Regions from separate parts of the Homo sapiens genome. Here region 1 is linked to region 2. The links are contacts of gene promoters, found by promoter capture Hi-C in blood cells and fetal thymus (Javierre and others, 2016). All regions are on one chromosome and are shown on one strand. The core of a region is centred on a gene start or on the middle of the fragment in contact, and the rest is flanking DNA. Distances in the headings are between cores, read along the strand shown.

Region 1 (4,413 bases), core at 1,906-4,405, 330 kb after region 2:
AAATGGTGGTGAAATCATGGGAGAGGATGTGGGTTGTTGTAAGTGGGGAGCAAAAATGAGATAGTGGAAAAGTAAAGATTATAAATATAAGTCCTCCTGATTCCAAAGTTTATATTCTTTCTGTTACACAGCAACTGGTAAATCGGTTAAAATGATATATTTTTCTTTTTATTGTGGTAAGAACACTTAACATGAGAATTATCCTCCTAGAAAATTTTTAAGTGTACAATACGGTATTACTAACTATAGGTACAATGTTGTACAGCAGATGTTTTTAGTCTGCTGGTGACTTTTCCTAAATACTCTGTCACAGATGATGTGATCATCACCTAAGTTAAGTGGTCTTTTCTTACTATTAAGGTATTATGTGCCATTCATTCTCCTCAGAAGCAAATGCATATGTGGCTACAATAAAGTACTTAAAAATAATTTAGGTAATAAAAAAAGTTATTGATTTTTAAAATTCTAAGGAAAAATATGTATTCAACATATTTATGTTAATGTTAAACAAACAGCTTATAAAGGCTGATTTAATGATAATTTGGAATTATATGCAGCTACTTGTCAACCTTACTCTGGATATCTTATTTCTTTCGTTTTTGCCAAGAATCCCCAAAAGCATCAGGTTTTTTAATGCAGTGATGATAAGCAGATAAACAAAGCAATGATGAAATAGATAGAATTAGTTCTAAGTCTCTGTAGAAATTCTCTGGAGGCCCCCATCGTCTTTTTTTTACATCTCCCTCATCCCCAGGGCTCATCCATTTCTGATAGTAATTAACCACAGGAGGCTGAAGCCCAGGGGATGTCAAAATAAGGCAGAGTCTTGTGCAGCCAACATTATCCTGTTGCTTTCTCTATGTCCTTGGGTAAAATAAAAGCAGTTTGCCAACCTGAGCTCAACTCTTTTGCCTGGAGCAGGAACTCCCAGTCACCAGGTAGGATCAAAACCTTCTATTTCTTTGCTGTAAGTTCTGCATTGGGTTCTGGTCCCCTTTGGGGTACTGATGATGCTGTGTGTGAGCATGAGAGAGACTTCGTATGCTCACACACAGCATATAAAGGACGTTTAAGTGTAGGATGAAGTTCTGATGACCAATGGAACTGCTATAAGAAAAGAAAAGCACAGCAACATCACTTCCAGTCTGTCGTAGAAAAATGAAAGGCTTTACATAATCAATCGGTTATAGCATTTTTATTCACAATCATGTTATTATTCAAGCCTAGTGCCCCTATTTTGTTTCTTTATTTTTTATTTTTTTCTGTAGGAGTCTCCCTCTTCCGCCCAGGCTGGAGTGCAGTGGCATGATCTCCACTCACAACAACCTCCGCCTCCTGGGTTCAAGTGATTCTCCTTCCTCAGCCTCCCGAGTAGCTGGGATTACAGGCGCCTGCCACCAGGCCCGGCTAACTTTTGAATTTTATAGTAGAGATGGGATTTCACTATGTTGGCCAGGCTGGTCTCAAGCTCCCGACCTCAAGTAATCTGCCCATCTTGGCCTCCCAAAGTGGTGGGATTACAGCCCTGAACCATTGCGCCCGGCCCCATATTTTGTTTTTTTTTTTTTGAGTTGGGGTCTTGCTCTGTCGCCCAGGCTGGAGTGCAGTGGCCCGATCTCGGCTCACTGTAAGCTCTGCCTCCCGGGTTCACGCCATTCTCCTGCCTCAGCCTCCCGAGTAGCTGGGACTACAGGCACCCACCACCGCGCCTGGCTAATTTTTTGTATTTTTTTAGTAGAGACGGGGTTTCACCATGTTAGCCAGGATGGTCTCGATCTCCTGACCTCGTGATCCACCCGCCTCGGCCTCCCAGAGTGCTGGGATTACAGGTGTGAACCACCACGCCCGGCCCCATATTTTGTTCTTAATACTATTCTCTACTAAAGTAAACTCAAAGTCTTTGGAGAGTAGTTAATTCCAGTTTTTTGAGGCTGAAAGAAAATATTTGGACAGCAAGGTATATCCAGTGAAGTTTGTAAGAGAATCAGTGACAGTCCTCAAAAAGCAATGAGCCACCTTAAGGGAATTTCCACTGGCCACGTTGTGATGATTGAGAGTAACGATAATAAAGATAACTCAGGTTAACTGGGACAAGACCCTGAGTTCATAATGATACTGAGTTCATAAAGATACTCAGGTTTATAGAAAGCATCAGAAGTGTAGTGTAATCCAAAGGAAGGGTGGATTTCAAATGACATGTTTAACTTTTCAAATTGATTTTAATAAGCAAGAATGTGTTTTTCCTCACATATATATAGATACAGTATACACACATGTGCAGGTACTTTGTTACTTCTGTTAAGTAGATGTTTTTTAGAAATATAATATGTATATCACCACCTATATGAGCTGGAAAGATAAAGCAAAACAAGGAAACGCAAAAGCCAAGTTAATGGGTACAAAAAATAGTTAAAAGAATGAATCAGACCTAGAACTTGACAGCACAACAGGGAGACTAGAGTCAATAATAATTTAATTGCACATTTAAAAATGACTAAAAGACTGCAATCGGATTGTATGTAACACCAAGGATAAATACTTGAAGGGATAGATGCCCCATTTTACTTACATGCTGTGATTATTACGCATTACATTCCTGTAGCAAAACGTCTCATGTACTCCATATATATGTGTGTGTATATATACACACATACACACACACACACACCCCTACTACGTACCCATATCAATTAAAATTTAAAAAACAAAAGTCCTGTGGAAATAAGGAAAAGTATTAACAACAGGAACAACTGATCAGCTCCCGAGATCTTATGTGAACACCAGGTAGAAAGGAAGCGTTGCAGGTAACTTGTGCTCGTGTTCATACAAAAACAAAAATAACTGTAAAAGGAGGGCTCAACTATTCACAACAGCCAAGACATGGCATGAACCCAGGTGTCCATCACCCGTGGACTAGATAAAGAAAATGTGGTACTATACAGCTGTAAAAAAAAAAAACCTGAATGAAATCATGTCCTTTACAGCAACATGGATGGAGATGGAGGATTTTATTCTTAGTGAGCTGACCCGGAAACAGAAAACCAAATGTCTCATGTTCTCGCTGACAAGTGGGAACTAAACGTTGGGTACACAGGGTCATAGAGATGGTAACAATAGACACTGAGGACTACTAGAAGGGGGGAGGCGGGAAGGGGAGAAGTGTTAAAAAACTACCTATTCTTTGGGAGGCCGAGGCGGGTGGATCACAAGGTCAGGAGATCGAGACCATCCTGGCTAACACGGTGAAACCCCGTCTCTACTAAAAATACAAAAACAAAATTAGCCGGGCGTGGTGGTGGGCGCCTGTAGTCCCAGCTACTCAGGAGGCTGAGGCAGGAGAATGGTGTGAACCCGGGAGGCGGAGCTTGCAGTGAGCCGAGATCGCGCCACTGCACTCCAGCCTGAGTGACAGAGCGAGACTCCATTTCAAAAAAACAAAACAAACAAACAAACAAACAAAAAAACCCTACCTATTGAATGCTATGTTCTCTATTTGGGTGATGGGTTCAATAGAAGCCCAAACATCAGCATCACACAATATACCCATGTAACAAACCTGCACGTGTACCTTAAAAGGATGGCTCAGCAGTGTGTTCCAAGAAAATAAATTAGCTACATATCTCCAGAAAAAAGAGCTAGGTGTGCAGACTACCTCATTTATTCTCATTCAGGGAACAAGATGTGTGGCTGTGCTGTCCAATACTTAACAAATTGAAATGTGGCTACTGAGACTGAAAGGGAAATTTAATTTTATTTAATTTAACCTAAGTTAAAAAATTGATTCTCAGTTCAGCTATTGGAAAACAAAGTGTGCTTGGAACAACTTGGATAAGTAAATATATGCTTTGGAGTGTAATTATTATAAAATCTAAATACCGATGAAGTATTGCCAATAAAAAATTAGCATCTGATTTGAAATGTACAATAAGTATAAAATACATGCTAAATTTTGGACAGTATGAAATTAATACCTCATTAATTTTTTGTATTCAAACATGTTGAATTAATAGTTTGGGTATACTGAGTTAAATAAGATATATTGTTAATTTACTTTTTTAACCTTTTAAAATGTGGCTATTAGAAAAATTTTAATGACATACTTTGCTTACATTGTTTCCACTGGGCAGCTCTGTCCTAGATAATCTTACTAATTATAGTGAGTGACTATTGATAAGAAAAACACAGGTTTATAATTAAATCAATAGAACAGATCAATATGTCAACATAACATGACAGTAAGTTAGGTACTTCTGTCCTACTAATGTTAAAAGCATCCCTCATTTCTGGGCAAAAAGCCAGCTCTCTAGGGAAGATAGAGTTGTAGCAGTCACCATGATGTAGCATGTAAACCTTTGTTACAGAAAGAATCTCAGCCTAATCAGTGATCACCAGCTCAGCATTTCCTTGGAGGGC
Region 2 (4,646 bases), core at 3-2,502:
ACTTTCAGCAAAGCAAGAATGGAGAAAAAGAGGATTAGAAGGAACTTCAGTTGGTTCCCTGGTGAATAACTTAACAAAATAAAACCTGCTTTTCCATTTGTATTACACATTCACAATCTCTCACTCTTACTTACTCTATTGGTGAATTTCAGATTCTGTCCACACATATAATTATTTGCCTGAACTTAACACTATCTTCCTGACAAATAGTAAATCTCCCAAGGACATCTCCGAACCTGGCAGTGTCCACAGGCCACGTCCTCCCACAGGAGTCCCTCGCCTGCTATGCAGCTGTTGGCGTCCTGAGCGATCCCAGTGTTTCCATGGGGGCAGAGCAAAACCTTGGGGATTCTCTAACATAATTTTAAGACTACATTTCACACTTAAATGACCACGTTATGAAACCTGGCAGGAAAATCCATGTTATTAATAAATGCCATGTCTCTTGCTCTCCCAAACACAGGAAGTATTTTTTGCTCTGCATATGTCTGCGGAGACTGTGGGGTCCCAGAGTGGAAAACTTCTCTAGTAACAAAGTACAGAAATTATCCCTGAAGTATAGTCTTTGCTTTGCTACTTCTGTAAGCTGTGTAACTGGTGAATTTTGCCTGTCTCCTGTCCTCCACTCCCCAAGCTGCAAGTCCGCAGGTGTCAGTGGGGCCTTGGCCCTCTCCCACGGGCCTCCCCGACACCCCCTGCAATGCCCTTCCCCCCGGCAGACCCCAGCTAGTGCTCACTGCCTGCGCTGGTTTGATTTCGATAGGTCCACAAGAGGATTTCCACCCTCTTAGTCTCTAAGGAAGATGGACTGCCCCAAGAAGGGAACCGCAATGAGGCTTGAAATCTTTTTCGTCTGGTGGGGGCAATGGGATGTATCAGGATCCTGCCTCCTGAGATGCGGCCCACCTAAACGGGCGTGGACATCTCCTCTTGGCCACACTCGAAACATCCCATGCTGCGGCCAAGCTCGGATAATAAAATGGTGCCACTAATTGTACGCCTTCCCAAAGCCTCCCACCTTCATTTTCTGATTGCCGTTTCTGAAAGATGGAGGTGTAGGCAGCTGTTGAGAATGAGCCACTTACCTGGCAGGTAGCAGCAAAAGGTCTGAAATGGCAGATGAGTCCTGGTGAGCTCACCTCCTCTGCAAAGGGTGATGATTGCTGTAAAGTGTCTTGGTCCCAGATGCTAAGATTCCCTAGACGTGGACTGGCAGCTGAGCTCCAGAGGCCAGGGCACGTGTGACAGAATTATTTATCCATCTTCCACCCTAAGATATATGCCGTTTGCTCTGCCCTTGGCTATGGAAACCAAGATGGATAGAACAAAACAAGGAAGTCGTCACATCCTGTCTCTGAGAAAAATCTTGAATTCCCATGTAAAATATCTCTCCAGGGTCACAGAAGGAGGGGAAAGGTATCTGAGAGCTTTGTAGAGAGCGACAGCTGCAGAGGCTCAAAGTGAGGAGAAAACGCTCCAGCTGGGTTCAGGGTCTTTGTGCCAGTGAAGCTCGGACTCCAAGGAGGCAGGGTAGCAGTCCCCGAACAGTGAAAGAGAGTAGACTGCAGTCTCCACTAACTAACCACGAGGAAGGGGCTGATGACCAATTTTTAACCCACCATAACCTTCTCCTCAGGACAAGGTCAGTAAGGAACAAATCCTGGGGGCATTGTCGTGAGGCAACCTGCAAAACCTGTTCACGTGCAACTTAGAAATGCAGGAGGGTGCTGGATTGGGATTTCTCTAGTGGAGAAGAGGTCAGAAAAGAAGCAGCAAGCACTACCCCAGCCCAGCCCACCCCATCTTACTGTAGGCCATGGTGCAACTTGGGCATTAGCGGACTGAGGCACCAGCCACCCAGCTGCAGCCCACACTGACGTCCCCTCCAGGGAACAGGCCAGAGCTGAGGCACGAGCAGCTCAAGCACATGCAGTGTTGTGGGAAACTGAGGACCGGAGAGACCGATGTGAAGAACAGGAGGATTGTTTATTTTAGGTACACACCGGCTCAGTGGACTCACATCCAAAAAGCTGAGCATTAAACAAAGACAGAGCGGGGTTTTTGTAAGTGGACTTACAATAAATAAAACAAAAGCAGCTAATCATGATAGGTCACATAATCTATAGCATAGCATAACTTGTGGCCTTGCACAGCGGGTGACTTTGTAGCTGCATTGAAAGAAAAACAAGAACTGGCTAAGTACAGACATTTGTAAAACACAATCATGCTTAAGAAGCCTGGGAAAACAGTAACAGTAAAAGAATTTGTCTTTCTCTCTTTTTCCTTCAACCTTGCTCTGGAAGTGGGGCGGCGGGTATCTGGAGCCCATTCCTTTGGCCTTGGCTTTCTGGACACTGTTATAACTGTCCTTGCAGTGGGCTTGCTATAGGCAGAGGAAAACTTGTCCTTTACTTTTTAACCCTTGCCTTGCCTGTTACTTTTCTTGGAGTGAATGAAGGCATATGTATTTTTAAATTTTCTGCCTCAGTAGCACACCCCAGGGACTCCCAGAAGTGCCTGTGTTTGTAGAGGGGCCTCTGCAGGTGACAGGGCGCTACATGGGTGGGAGACGGGAGCCAGCAAGCTTCAGGCATGGACCTGGAGGTGACTGTCTGTGCTCAGACAGGCTGGTGAGACTGGGCACCCAGGCTTATTAATGTGAACAGATGTCCCTAGGACAGCAAAAGGGGCTGAACAGTGAGCTCAAACAGTGGGTGCAGTTCCCCGGGCCTGGGGAGACAGAGGAGGGCTCAAGGACAGGGTATACTTAAGATGGATGCTGCATAAACAGTAGGATCAGGGAAGCCATGGGCAGCCCGGGAGGACAGAGCCTGCGAGGACAGACATTCTTCGTGGAGGGAGGTGATTAGCATGTGGGAGGTAGGAAAAGGCTAGGGGTTAGCCAGACCAGTGTGTGGCTCACTAGTGGAAGGGAAGGTTGAACAGAAGTGGATGGGACCACATTGCAGAGGCCCTTGCATGCCACATAGGGAAGTGAAAGAGAAGGAAAATTGCACTTGTAGAGAGGGGCTGCTCGAAAACGAGAACATGGCCTAAACTTTTCATTGCCCTTAGGTTGGATTCCTCCATGCTGCCTGGGGAGAGGTGAGATTGTCACAGCAGAAATGCAAAGAGAGAGAGAAATGGGCAGAGTCCACTTCTGTGGCTCCTAGACACAGCCCTGGTGGGATGTGGGAGGGGGACCCCACCTGCCACCACCGCCTGCATATCAGGCGCATCATGCAGTAGGAAAGATGTAGACAGCGGCTGTCCCTGCCAGCCGAACCTCCCATTCCAAGACCCAGTAAATGCATAAAGGCTCAGATCCAAAATGAAGGTAGGTGCTGAACCCCTGGCGGACTATAGGTGCCACTGGAGAGAATGGACCCTCATCTGTCCTTGTGTGGGATTTTTGGGTGTCAATTTTCTTCCCAGAAACCTCTGTGGCACCTGAGTTCTTGTCCTGCCTCCAGGAAGAATGAGGTCATGAGGTACACAGACAAGTGAAGGGTGAAGAAGATGCAGAGAAGCTTTATTGAATGCTAGAACAGCTCAGAGGTGATCTGCAGTGAGCTCCTCTCTGTAGGTAAGTCCTCCCCTCCCACTGAGTGTTCAGCTCTCAGCAGAGAAGGCCCTTGAGAGGGTAGCTCCTCTCTGCCCACTGGTCCTCCTGCCACCTGCTGCTCTCAGCAGACAGAAGTCCCTGGAGAGAGTGGCTCCTCTCCACAGGCAAGTTGTTCTGAACACCTCTGCAGGTCTCTGAAGCTCTCAGCAGAGAGGGTAGCTCCTCTCTGCAGCTGGCCATCCCATCGTTTCTCCATCCTCTGCCCTGCTCTGGCTGAGCCTCAGGCTTTTATGCACCTCAGAGGGGAGGAAGTGCATGCTGATTGGTCCATGGGCAGCCAGAGGGAGACACCACAAGTCCCCACTCCAGTCAGAGGGACTGGCAGCCAGGCCTTCAGGCCCTCCCTGGCCTGAAGGCGGGGCCTTACTGGGGACCCGCCTTCTCCCTCCAGGGACTCTGTCTGCCTCCCACTGCCATTTATGGTCCCTGGCTAGGCCCCAACCCCGCTCTGAGAGTGGGAGCAGAGAGAGGCCAGGCAGTGGGAAGCAGACAGCCCTGAGCCTGCAGGGATGGGGGTTGGGGGGCTGGGTACAGGGTGGTTCTTCCCAGGCCCTGGAGGTGCAGAATGCACAGATGCCGGGGTCCTGCTCCTGGGAGGGTGGCCGAAGCTGCACCCGGGGAGCTCCTGCCCCATCAATTCGGAAGGGGCAGGGCTCCTGCTTGTCCTGGCTCCTGCCTCCTCCGTGGAGCAGGAGGCTGAGGTCTGCAGCTGTGGGTTGGGTGGCTGCAGCTGCACGCAGAAGGGCAGATCCTGCCTGCCCCTGGCTCCCACCCAGGAGCTCAGGGAGGCTTGGATCCACAGCTGCAGTTTGGGTGGCTGTAGACCCACACAGGAGGGTTGGGATCCTGCCTGATCTGTACAGCAGGAGGCCTGGGTCTGCAGTCACAGTTTGGGTGACTGCAGCGGTACCCGGGGAGCTCCCGCCCCATCTCAGAAGGGGCAGAGCTCTTACTGGCTCCGTGAAGTATGCAGCCCCAGCCAGGCCTCCCTGCTGCAGCCCCTGTGATGGCAGCGGCCATC

The links. The method cuts DNA at HindIII sites, captures the fragments that hold promoters and counts their contacts. A CHiCAGO score of 5 or more calls a contact.
Region 1: a fragment that was not itself captured here is called in contact with the fragment with the promoter of BTNL9 in region 2 in 1 of 17 cell types (monocytes); the score reaches 5.0 in monocytes.

Annotation. Positions count from the first base shown.
Region 1 is chr5:180,704,517-180,708,929 of GRCh38, reverse strand. No RefSeq gene overlaps it. Among named protein-coding and RNA genes, the nearest start is that of LINC02222, 23 kb to the right of the region's middle. The HindIII fragment of the contact is 7,706 bases long and covers 1-4,413 here.
Region 2 is chr5:181,036,872-181,041,517 of GRCh38, reverse strand. BTNL9 (butyrophilin like 9) reads right to left here and starts at 1,252. Exons shown (of 11, transcript NM_152547.5): 1 at 1,086-1,252. RefSeq lists an enhancer at 3,809-4,646. The HindIII fragment of the contact is 10,345 bases long and covers 1-2,586 here.